Linked DNA regions of Homo sapiens: region 1 is linked to region 2. Evidence: promoter capture Hi-C in 16 types of primary human blood cells and fetal thymus (Javierre and others, 2016). All regions are on one chromosome and are shown on one strand. The core of a region is centred on a gene start or on the middle of the fragment in contact, and the rest is flanking DNA. Distances in the headings are between cores, read along the strand shown.

Region 1 (6,924 bases), core at 1,745-4,244, 46 kb before region 2:
TCGTGTCCTAGTTAATGACCCACTTTTTAAGCAATAGTTAATAACATCAAAATCCAGGTCCAAGCAGAGAGTTTAAATTCTCTTTTAGAGTTTGTTATAACAGAATTCTTCCTGTCCTGGTTAGGTCTTACATAGCAGCAGTATAGATATTTTACTTAAATATTCCAGAGTGTTTTGTGTTTGCACAACAGATTTTGGTGCAGATGGGTTTGGGCAATATCCTTAAATCATACCCTCTGCTGCACTCATCTTAGGGCCAACCAACTCAGACATACTGAATTAATTAGCAAGCTCTTACTTAGCACCTACTTTGTGCCTAGTAATCCCCTGTGGGTAGGTAACCAGACACCCAGGTTTGTCTGGCACTGTTACTGTTTATGCTGTCTTTCCCAGGTAATTGCTAATAGTGCCCCTTTCACTTTCAAAAGTGTCCTAGTTTTAATGATCAATGGTCACACTACTATAATCACTTATGGGGCATGGAAGGAAACACAGGAAGCTTCTGGCTTACAAATGCCAGACTTATAAATTTCGCTCCCCATCCCACGTCCTCACCACTGGAACTACCGGTATTACTTCCAGGGTGGGGGGCATTGTGAAAACTATGGGTCTTTTAGAGACTTGGTGGACTTAGAAGTCAAGGCAGAACCAAGCCTGAGAAAAGGTGGTATGGATCTCCAGAGACCCACCCTACAAGTTGTCCTCCTTTGCAAAATCTTCTCCCTCAAACTATTTCTCTTTATTGCATTGCCTAATTCTCCTGGTCAGAGATTTATGTGAGGAAAGTAAGCACTGTATTTTTAATAGCACAAACAGGTTGGAGAATGTTCAATGAAACGTTTTTTTTTCCCTTCCTAACATGGAGCTGCTGTCTGCTTATACAGGGGAAAGGGAGGGTTTCTGGGAGGAATAGAGGTGAAAAGGAAAAAGTAATTTTGGAGCATGAGATATTCTGGGGAATGAGACTCTCCCTTAGGGCAAACTAGGGACCCAGGAGCCAGGGGGCCGTGAAGGTGGGAGGCAGAAGAGAAGGTGGATGTCAGAGACATGCAATAGTTATTTGGGGGAAAATGTTGATTTGTGCACAAGTCATATCTTGGGAAATGAAAGGAACGTTCTTTCTCTGTCACCTGCTGTTCCTCCTCACCCTCCACTGCCTTATACGGCCCAGTACGCAGAATTCAAGCCAGTGCTAGATTATGTGCTACATGCCTGACAGTGAGACTCATATTATAACATTGCTTCTGCAGGAGTTCTTGCGTGCAGTCAACGAGTTTACCATTACATCTTGGGACACGCTCATTTTAAAGTTGGGAACTGCCTGTATAAGACATGGTCCCTACCCTGGAGGGATTCACAGTGACTAGATTTAAGGTAGACCAGTTAATAAATGCGAAACTACTGGAGAATAATCAATGGTCAGCTGTAGGATATTGGCTTTAAGTAAAATGGAAATTTATGCTAGGGTGGTATGTCGGTTCATTGAAATTCTCACATAGGACAGTATGACTGATCTATGCTAAGAATATACTTGGCTAGTAAGAGGAGGAAGAAGAAAACTCTAGTGATGGAAATCACCTGGAGCCAACGTTTGGCATCAGACATGAGCATGGACAGGATAGGCTGCAAGGAGGAATCAGGCATGATGGAAGCAAAATGGCTTTCTAAGAAGCAGTGGGAGATTGGAATGGCTAAAGTAAGATGGGGTCAAACATTTCCTGTAAATTAAAGACAGGAACATAAAACATATCACTTGAAATTTGTACACATTTCATGTGACTGAACACTTTGAGGCAATAAATCTTGACATACTTTTTCAGGGGCATGAGTTAATGTGGCTAAAGTTCAGATGAGGTGAGGATCAGATATTGGAAGAATGGGAATCCATATTAAGGACTTTGGATTTGATGAAAGAGTCCATTTATGGTGTTACTGGAAATATTTCACTAGGGCTGGAACATTGGCCTGCGGCTGGCACACAGGATGAAGGTGGAATAAGTCAGGGAGACCACTTAGGAAGCTGCTATGATAGGCCAAAGTGGGAAGCTGAGTACCTGGACCAAGATGGAAGCAGCAGATTGGAGAAAGAACACATCTGAAAGTCGCTGTGGAGATGGAAATGATAGGACTTAGAAATCACATGGGAAGAGCCAGAGAAAGTCCTTAGGTTTCTCCGGGTAACTTAAGCATAATAGGAACACTATTAGAAGTTCATGTTCCCATGAAAGTTCCTTACCTGTGGAGCCTCCCATGCCCTCCTGGTGAACCTCCATTTCTAAGGAAACCCTATAGCATTTACTGAGTATCTTAATTCTCCAAAAAATCAGACTTCTCCAAAGAAAGTCTTTAAGCATGTATTCACTAACTTGATTTTGCAAAATTACGTTAGCAAATACGTGCTATAAGGTTTCTAACCCGACAGACAAAAGCATGTAAATCATTTTACTGCTAGTTTTGGTGGAGGGTAGTGACAACTGCCAGTGTTTCAAAAAAGAGTAACATATCCAGAGTTTGTTCACACAGAAATGAATGCTTTTTAGCTTCATAACCCCTGTGCCCTTCCCGTGAGCCCCATCTCCCCAGGAAACGATATAGTACCAATTTACTAACTTAATTTGTAAAAGGAGGTTAGTGAATCAATTCTGTAAGACTCATGGAAATATTTGAAATTAATTAGCCTTGTCAGCTTTTATTTGCATAGGCTCTCTTCCAACCATATCCCCCAGCCCAAGTACAACGTTTTAGTAAGATTGATTTTAAACAATGAGACTTAGAGAATCTGTGTACAAGGAGCTTGAATAATTTAAATGCGTGGGTTTATTATTAACACAGTAGCAAATATATCAAGGAAACACGCCCCATGAAAAGTGTTTCAAAGAAACACAAATCTGTACTGAAAAAAGTCTATACGCAATAAGTAAGCCCAAAGAGGCATGTTTGCTTGGCGATGCCCAGCAGATAAGCCAGGCAAACCTCGGTGTGATCGAAGAAGCCAATTTGAGACTCAGCCTAGTCCAGGCAAGCTACTGGCACCTGCTGCTCTCAACTAACCTCCACACAATGGTGTTCGCATTTTGGAAGGTCTTTCTGATCCTAAGCTGCCTTGCAGGTAAGGAAAGGATCTCCAAACCACCAAATATAATTGGAAACAGAGTTTCCTTTTAAATAAAAATTCCACATTTTTACATAGAATTTTCATCTCCTGTACTTCAAATGAATTGTGATTAGTATGATGAGTTAATTTTCAGAACTCTTGCTTAGCAAACATATGCCATGCTGATATATTAGGGGTGTAAGCCCATAATATTATTGTTTTATGGAGCTTCTGAATGAAAATTTTCTCAGAAAAAAATATAGTTTATTACTTTACTTACTTTGAAAAGTGAAAAAAATGAATTTACTCAGAAACCAAACTTTGTGCTAGGGATAATTTTGTCTCTGTTTTACTTACTTTAGTGTTTCCTTTAAGCTCAGTGATTGACTTGCTCTAGCAGGCAGAGCCTGGGTTGGAGGGCCTGCCCTGGCTTACATATGGGAAGAACAGAAATTTACTGAGTACTTTACTGTCTAATATTTCTTAAGGAGTTGTGGTTTTCCAATCCTAAGACTGTATTTTGCAAAATATGTGAGTGATTTATGGTGCACAACATGGGTGATTTTAGGTATCTGAACAGAAGAAAATCAATTTTGGAATCAAAATACTGATGTTAGTTAGATCCAGGAGAGATCATTAATTCCAAAAATCCCTTGGGTAGTTTTCAAATATCAGATACATTTTGCATCTGTTCTTATAAGTTAGGTCCATAGTAAATACAATAATATTGTTTATCCAAAAACAGGATTTTCAAGCCATTAGTAATATTAGGCAGTGGTTAGAATGAGGTTTACTAGGCGTATTAATGACATAAGAAAATACCCACGATAAAATATTAAGTGAAAAAGCAGGATGCACACATATGCCTAGAATAAATTACTAGAAGGTTATATACCGAAGTGCTCATGGTGGTTGCCTCTGGGTGATGGGATTATAGATGATTTTAATTTTATTTCCCAGCTTTTCATACTTCCTGGGTTTTCTACGAAGAACATTATGCTATTTTTATAATTAGAAAAAAGTGTTACTTTTCAAAGTGATCTCATGTTTAGAAATAGTTCTTTAAATGTTCATTACTAAATGTTTAAGCATAGATGTTTTATGGAGTTAAACATCACCAGAAGGCAATACTCCATTTGTCCAGTGACCTAACTAGGCCCTAGAGCTGGAAACACATGTTCCTATTTTCCCTTCTCCCCAGGCATATTCATTTAAATGTAACTTTAGATATGGAAGTTTTGTCTCTTCTTAAAGGGTTTCCAGTCATTAGCCAGTTGGGTCGACCCCTGGGCCTTCTGCATCAGCCCTCTAAGATCATACCTGTTTCCCTATGTGAAGCCTTGCCCTGGCCCATACTAGGCACAGGGTTTGGAACGGTTGTTAAGAACAGTTTTTTTTTTTTTTAACTGTACCTAACATACAAGTAATTTTTACTGATTATAAATGTAATGCATGGTCATTGTAGAAAGGTTGGAAATATGGAAATTTAAAATAAAATAAAAATCATCTGCAATTTTACCACTCAGATTTGGGTGAATTATTATTCTTTTATTTGCAGGTGTATATATTACATTTTAAAAATTGGGTTTATTCCTTGTATACTTTTTTATTGTTTAAAAAAATTGTTTAGCATCATGTCAGGATTTTATTTTATTGTGACTTTTAGAACAAGACCAATAAATACTTCAGAGTGTGTTTCCTAAGTTACTATATAACTGATTTTGTTGGTATATAGTGTACACTATATATCTACACACATATTATCTAGTTGGCCCAAAGCAGTAGTGTCAGTACAGCAAATTGTGGTATGCTCTATTGTCGTTTGCTGTGCTTACATATGTATTGAAGTCAGAGAAAGGATCACTTTAGTAATCTACACCTGTCATTAGCAGTGTTCATCAGTTGATCTGGACAACTGATAGTGTTTCCATCAATGTGCAATTTGATGTTCTTCCTGGACTTGTTTTGGAGAGAATGTCACTTTTTGGTGTTAAGCGTGGTGCCTAACACATAGTGGATGCATAGTAAATGTTTGTTGAAAGAATGAATTACTTTCCCAAATTCCAAACATCCAGACATCATTTTCACATACATATTTAAAATTGATTTTGATATAACTAAACAGGTCAGATTTTGCTTAAATCAAAATATTTTCAATGACTTCTTAGGAATTCTTAGGTTAAATTCTAATTCAGGAAAACGAGTTTTAATCAAACTTCTGCAAAAAATTTATGCATATCATTTTAGGTATTTGAAATATGTATTAGTCACCTCTTAGAAAGATATGTTAATGTGGGTTTCATTTTCTGGAGGTATATGCTATGCATTTTAAAGGAGTAATATATTTGAACTTTGAGTTTGCACTCAAATCCAAAAAAGTGAGTGATCATTTGATTATATTATTTCCTAAGTCAAAATGAATCTATTATATATGAAGTTGCTGGAAATTAAATCACTTCAAATCTATCAGATTAAATATGAATATTTGGGGGATATTTTGCTGTGGTACATTAGGAGGATAATAATCCTTCTATAAGCAAAATGTTTGCCACCTTGTAGGCATTAAATGAATGAACAATCACCACCAAAATACAAGACATTCTCTCTCTCTCTCTCTCTCTCTCTCTATATATATATATATATACATATATATATACATATATATACACATATATATATACATATATATATACACATATATATATACACATATATATATATACACACATATATATATATACACATATATATATACACATATATATATATACACATATATATATATATATACACACACATATATATATATATATATATATATATATATATATATATATACACATATATATATTCTTTTGAGACGAAGTTAAGTCTTGTTGCCCAGGCTGGAGTGCAATGGCACGATCTCGGCCCACCGCAACTTCCGCCTTCCGGGTTCAAGTGATTCTACTGCCTCAGCCTCCTGAGTAGCTGGGATTACAGGCATGCACCACCACGCCCGGCTAATTTTGTATTTTTGGTAGAGACAGGGTTTCTCCATGTTGGTCAGGCTGGTCTTGAACTCCCAACCTCAGGCGACCCGCCCACCTCAGCCTCCCAAAGTGTTGGGATTACAGGCGTGAGCCACTGCGCCCAGCCTAAAAATATTTTTAAATGTTGATTAAGTGTGTACATCTTGGATTATTTTTCTTTAATAATAAGCACTTTTTTAATTATTATTATACTTTAAGTTTTAGGATACATGTGCACAACGTGCAGGTAAGCACTGGTTTTTAAAAGAGATTACACATATTTCAACCACATATGCATTTTTGTTTTGTTTTTAAATTTGGTCAAGTCAGAGAGGGACATTGCGTTCTTGGGTTTTGTTTAAATCAGATACTAATCTTTACTTTGCTATTTATTCACAGTCCTATTGATGTAGAGATTTTTCTGACTTATTCAATTTTTAAATAATTTCTCAACTTAGAATGACTTAATCCAAAGGAAGGGAACTTTTTTCCCTGACACTCAGAGAATCACCTCCACTTTAGGACTAAGTTTGCACTGCCCATTGTCTACATGTGGCTATTGAAATTTAAATCACTTCAGATTAATGAAAATTATAAAGTCAGTTCCTCAGTTTCACTAGCCACATTTCAAGTGTTTGATAATTCTATTTGGGCTACTGAACTGGATGGCGCAGAGATAGAACATTTCCATCATCACAGGAAGTTCTGTTGGACAGCACTGTAAGGGTGAGCTCAGAGGTTTTAAGTAATGTGCACTAATTGAATGATGTGACATTTTAAAAAGGCTCATCTGGAAATATATAACTTTTAGCTCTGAAG
Region 2 (6,479 bases), core at 2,404-4,903:
AAATCTATCTGTGTTTGTATACACGTTTAGAACTCAACAGAAGTAGCCTAGGATGGAACCATACCTCATGCCTGTTTTTCGAAGCTGCATAATGTAAGGGAGTACAGCCATTTTGATTGACAGCATTCACTTGAGCACCTTTTCCCAGAAGGGCTTTTACAATCTCATCCCGGCCAGCAGAAGCCGCAATATGAAGAGGAGACCAACCTGCCTATAAAAGAAGTAGGTAGTAGAAATACCAGGGGAAAAAGGCACAAGGATTAGTGCTAACATTTAGGAAGGGTTAGCAAGGAGCTTTACAAAGGCAAAAAAATATTTGCCTACAAAAAAGGTTCCATTCTTACTCTTCACAAATCTAATCCTAATATAACCATATCATTAGAATAAATCTCTTTATGTAACAAAAAAGTTATTTAGGTCCTCATTATTCAGGCCATGTTCACCAAAAAACAAAAAATCCAACATAATAGAAAGAGTTTATGGTCTTTTAGGGTTCACCATAACAAGCCCTGATCTGTATGTTTATTTTTGTTTTTTTATTTTTAGAGACAAGGTCTCAGTCTGTCACCCAGGATAGAGTACAATGGCTCACTGCAGCCTCAAACTACTAGGCTGGAGCAATCCTCCTACCTCAGCCTCTCCTGTATGTTTACCTTAAATCACAGAGTATGAGTGGCAAACATAACATTGTAAAATAATGCAACCATGAGTCTCATGCTTGATCACAAGGGCCATGATGTAACTTTCCAGTCATAAAGGTTACAATTTTCTTTATAAGCTTAATGCACAGGCTTCAGTAAACACCAGTCTGGAGTACAAAGATAACTGGGAATTTATCAACTCAACTTTATCAAAGTACTCACATCGTCTTTATCATTCACTGGCACTCCAAGTTGCAACAAAAATTCAACAATTTCTGTATGTCCAGCTGAGCATGCCCAGTGCAATGCAGTTCTGCTGTCCTACAGAGAAGCAGTAATAGAAACATTCTTGAAATAGAAGGCAAAAAAGCAAGAAAAAAAATACTGGTGCTGGCAAATCTATAGTTTGAAAATACGAAATGCAGAGCACTGGATCCTCAGGTAGGTAACCTTAAACTATATTACTTACTGGTATAAGACAGATGAAGGTTTAAGTAACATGGGGAGAATGACATTGATGAACATACGTAATTCTGGGCAGAATACGACAAGGAAAGTAGTAGAGCAAGAAACTGATTTCAATGCTTTGACAGAAATACATCTTTGGTTGTTTTACTATTACATTATTTACGTACTTTTATGTCAGGCACTGTGCTGGGAGTTTTACATGTATAGTATCATTTAATTCCTACCATTCTACACAGTGCTTATTATCTCCATTTTTCAGATGAGGAAACTAAAACTCCTCAGGGTAAGCAACTTGTGGACGGTCATATGGATACTAAATGGTGAAGTTGGGGCACAACTGTCAGTGAAGTTCTGACTCTGAAATCTCTACTACCACACTGACCTCAAGTTAGATGCTGTAGAAGGAACACATGAATCTAATGGGGGAAGAAATGTTCATTAAACTAGTTGAAATTATCTAGAATTTAAAATCATAAATAAATTAGAAATATAATTTAGAAAACACAACACACAGAAAACAAGAAAATTACTTTTTATAAAAAATAATAAGCTATGGCCGGGTGCGGTGGTTCACGCCTATAATCCCAGCACTTTGGGAGGCTGAGGTGGGCAGATCACCCGAGGTCAGGAGTTCTAGACCAGCCTGGCAACATGGTGAAACTCCGTCTCTACTAAAAATACAAAAGTTAGCCAGGCGTGGTGGCAGGCGCCTGTAATCCCAGCTACTTGGGAGGCTGAGGCAGGGGAATCGCTTGAACCCGGGAGGCAGAGGTTGCAGTGAGGTGATACGGCACCACTGCACTCCAGCCTGGGCAACAAGAGCGAAACTCTGTTTCAAAAAATAAATAAATAAAAATAAATAAAAATTAAAAAAGCTATAGTAGTCATTATTTGTCAAAGGGAATCCCTATTTGCAGTGACTGCTATACTTCTTAGCCCCACAGAATAGAAAATGGTATTTTAAACTCTATTACAAAAAAATTTCAAACACAAAAATAGAGGGAATAGAATAGAAACCCACAGGCCTACTGCTTAGATTTAACAACAAACATCTTGCCCTATTTGCTTTAACTAGTTTTTTCCTTGCTGAGCTTTCCAAAAACAAATCCTAAATATCATGACTTTTCACCCTTCTCTTTCAGTATGTAAAAAATAAAGGTATTTCTTATATAACTATGAGACCATTATTACACTTACTAAAATTAACACTAACTCCTTTAGAATGTCTAATATCCGGTCTGTATTCAGATTGCCCCCAACTGTCTCCCAAATGTCTTTTTGCAGTTGGTTTGTTTAAATCAGGAACCAGACGAGATCCATAAATTGCATTTCTTCATGTTTTTTACGTCTCTTGATGCTGAATAGTTCCTTTCCCTTTTTAAGCCACTGACTTGACTGAAGAATGGTTAAATTTCCAATGGAGTATTAAATCTTAATATAAAGTATTACATTTAAATTTAAATCCTTAAATATCACCAGACCATAATGAAGTAAACCAGGTAAAGATAAGGCCATTTTCAGGTTGAGTAATAAAGGAAAGTTCCAGAAAAGAGAAAACAGTCTCTTGATTTCTAATTCTCTCCCAAAAGACACAAAATGGAGATCTGTAAGTATGGGACAGTCTCACTAGTGCTTACGACACTGTCTGCGAAACACAAGGCCATCTATAAATATTTGTGGGCTTACTAAAGGCACCATGAATCCTAGAAACTGAGGATGAAAGCACGAGAGTCCTGTGAGCAGGAGGGCAGAAAGAAACACTTCTAAACTTCTGTCTACCTCTGCTTAGAATGTCCACTCATTCCCCCATGGAAATCCCACTCATGCTTCAAAGTCTAACTAACCTTCCCTTCTTTGCAAAAACTTTTCCAATTAACGACAGTCATATTCAGCATCAGATCCTCCTATTAACGTGTTCTGAAAGCACCATGTAAACTTCTCTGCCGAGTATTTACCACAATTTGTAATCGGACATGTTTTTGTGCTTATTTTATTGTCTGCATCTTCCACTCCACCGTATCCCCAGCTCCTAGCAAACTGCCTGGCACGGAAGGGGCGTTCAATTTCACATGCGTTACTGAATACAGTTACTAGTAAAGGTAAATAAATCCATATAAAAAGCCTTCCTTTTCACTGATTGGGAGTTTCTGAGAAATGCGGTAGACGTTCTAGAACTATCCAAAAATCAGGGAGCGGAGCTCCGGGCCAACGGGAAAATATCTGAGGTCTGTGGGGCTAGCTCCCGCAGGCCTATCGCGAGTCCCGAGGTGACCCAGGGGGACTGCTTGGGGCGGCGGGGGCGGGGTTCTGCTTCTCTCAGAAACGGGGCCTCCGCTAGGGCCGGGCCCCGAAAGCCACGTAGGGCTTCGCCGACGTCGCCGACTGCGGAGAGACCTAGCGTTGCTTTACCTGGTCAGTTCTAGTAGCCAGGGATTTATCGGCCAGAATACTCTCCTTCAACTCTTCCAGCTTCCCGCTGTAGGCCAGGTTGCAGACCATTAGGTTAGACACACACCCCTCCATTTCGCTGTCCCAGCAACTACTTGTCGCGCGAGCAACGCCCGCCTCACGTCGCCGGCTCCGGCTACGCCAGTCAAAACAGCCGTTAGAGCTTCACCAATCACCGGCCTTCCTCGTTCCCTTTTCTTTTCCCGTCGCGCGGCGCCTCTGGGAGTTGCAGTTTGAGAGCAGTTCCGGGCAGGGAGGCGCCTTTGCTGCCCTCACAGACTTGGCCCCTAGCAGTGCAGAACTACAAGTCCCAGGGATCCTAGCGACCGTCCGTCCGTAGTCAAGTTGCCGGTGGAATTGGCCCAGGATGACAGCTGGAGAATGGAGTCAGGTACGGGGAGCGGCTTTGAGTGGAACCGTGTGAAAGAGCCGGGGTGGGTAGTCGCTGGCGGGTCGTTGAGTCGGCCATATGAAACAGGTTCGGGGGCAGGGCAAGAGTTATGAGAGCCTAAAGGTCCTGTCCCCCGGGGTTCCTGACCTGCAGTGGCAGGCGGAAGGGACAAGGGTTGGAGCTGAGTACTACCTACTGAGCTCGAACCGGTGACTGTGGCTACCCTCCCCCTCCCTGCCACCGCCTAGGGAGTGGAAAGAAGTGGGGGTTAATTACTCTGACATCTCGGCGGTGTGGCATCAGGACAGGGTTCTACCACAGCAGTGATAGCATATGGCACCGTACTGAGGTGATGTGCCAGGGTGATGCCAAAGGCAGGGTGTGATGCCGTGGGAGCCACCTGATATCTAAGAGACCTCGGTGAGTCCATAGCCTGGTGACATCACAGCTTGATGAGGGTCATCTTAAGGATACCGGGCTGTGGTGTTGGCATTTTAATATCACGATATTAACTATGTTGTCAAGGCTTTGCTACAACTATTAAGCTAATAGTGTTTCTTTTTATAGAAATCCCAAATAGTGCCATAGCAGAAGCAATGCAAGACTGATCCTTTATAGGGCATATCCAGAGGACATTATGCCACAACTAGGTAACGATAAGAATACATTCAAGAAAGAGACTCATGATGTTTATGTTTATCCTGTTATAGTGTAGAACAGGAGTTGGGAAACTTTCTGTAAAGAGCCAGATAGTAAATATTTTAGGCTTTGTAGGCCAAAAGGCAAAATCAAGAATATTTTGTTGGTACTTTTATGACAAAAGAGAAAACAAATTTCAACAAATTTTTATTGATGAAATTCAAAATATAATAGTAATTGAGTACTTTTTTTGTAATACAGGAAGACTACCAATGAGAAGAATAGAATTCTTTTTAGGGGATAATATTTTGCTTAATTGGGGCTCAGAATTAGTGTTCCCTATTGTCAAAATTGATTTTAAGTGTTCATCTGTTAATGCTGATCTGTTAGGAAATTTTTACCTATTTAATCTTTGAAAATGTCATTTTACATAGATAGGTACTGCCAAATACTGATATCAATTCATAAACATATACTTTTTTATTTTTATTTTTATTTAATTTTTCAAAAATTTCAGAATAGTTGTAGATTTATAGAAAAGTTGCAAGGTTAGTAGAGTTCCTGTATAACACTCACTCAAAATGAGGCACATTTTACATATCATAAAATTCACTGATTTCAAGTGCATAATTAAATGATTTTTGGTAACTTTACTGAAGTGGGGCAACCATCACCATAAATCAGTTTTAGAACTTTTTGATCCCTCCAGTAAGGTCCCTCATGCCTATTTATAGTTAATCAATCCTCTGTCCCATTCCCAGCCCCAGACAACCACTAATCTACTTTTTTGTTTCTATAAATTTGCCTATTCTGGACATTTTATATAAATGAAATCATACAATATGCAGTCTTTGTGTCTGATTTCTTTCACTTAGCATAATATTTTTGAGATTCATCCATATTGTAGTATGTATCAGTACTTCCTTACTTTTTTATTGCTGAATAGTATTCCATTTTATGGATATAACACATTTTTATCTGTCTACTCACTATTAGATAGGCACATCAGTTTCCAATTTTTGGCTACTATGACTAGTGCTGCTAAGAAGATTAGTATGTAAGTCTTCGTGCGGACATATTTTTTTCATTTCTCTTTGATAGATACTTAAGGGTGGAGTTACTGGATCACAGGGAAAATTTATGCTTAACTTCTTAAGAAACTGCAAAACTGTTTTCCAAAATGGCAGCAACATTTTGCACTTCCACTAGCAATGTATGAGAGTTCCTGTTTCTCCACATCCTTGCCAACATTTGTTATTTACTGTGTTTTTTGTTATAGCCATTCTAAGTGGGTGTGAAGTGGTGTCTCATTGTGGTTTTAATTTATAAATTATAATTTATAATACGGTGAGCATATTTTCATGTGCTTATTAGCCATTCATATATCTTCTTCAGTGAAGTGTCTGTTATATCTTTTGTCTGTTTTTAAATTGAGTTATTTGTTTTTTTAGTGTTGAGTTGTAAGGATGGTTTATATATTCTAGATCAAGTCCCTGAGAGATATATGATATGCACATATATTCTCCCAGTCTGTTGCTTGCCTTTTTCTTTTTTTGATGGTGTCTTTTGAAGTGAAAACGTTTTGAATTTGGGTGAGGTTCAATTTATCATTTTTTTTTCTTTCATGGACCATTCTTTTGGTGTTGTACTTAAGAAGTCTTTGCCTAATTGCAAGGTCTCAGTGATTTTCTCCAATGTTTTCTTCTAAAAGCTTTATTACTTCATCTCTTACATTTAAGTCTATGATTCATTTTGAGTTCATTTTTTCTCTGTGATGTGAGGTGAGAGTCTAAATTCATCTTTTTGCATGTGGATGTAGAAATTGTCCTAGCACCATTTGCTGAATCTCTTATCATTAACGTCTTACATTGCTATGCTATCTATGTCACAAC

Evidence for each region. Contacts are between HindIII fragments. The CHiCAGO score rates a contact against its expected background, and 5 or more counts as called.
Region 1: a contact is called between the fragment with the promoter of VSIG1 here and the fragment with the promoter of PSMD10 in region 2, in 4 of 17 cell types (neutrophils, activated CD4 T cells, total CD4 T cells and 1 more). The highest score is 9.8, in neutrophils.

What each region holds. Positions count from the first base shown.
Region 1 is chrX:108,042,071-108,048,994 of GRCh38, forward strand. It overlaps VSIG1 (V-set and immunoglobulin domain containing 1), which reads left to right and starts at 2,995. Exons shown (of 7, transcript NM_182607.5): 1 at 2,995-3,109. The coding sequence starts at 3,061. The HindIII fragment of the contact is 8,448 bases long and covers 498-6,924 here.
Region 2 is chrX:108,087,889-108,094,367 of GRCh38, forward strand. PSMD10 (proteasome 26S subunit, non-ATPase 10) reads right to left here and starts at 3,654. Exons shown (of 5, transcript NM_002814.4): 1 at 3,519-3,654; 2 at 864-962; 3 at 65-211. The coding sequence starts at 3,632. It overlaps ATG4A (autophagy related 4A cysteine peptidase), which reads left to right and starts at 3,890. Exons shown (of 13, transcript NM_052936.5): 1 at 3,890-3,948. The coding sequence starts at 3,939. RefSeq lists enhancers at 3,403-3,802, 3,853-4,092. The HindIII fragment of the contact is 5,520 bases long and covers 777-6,296 here.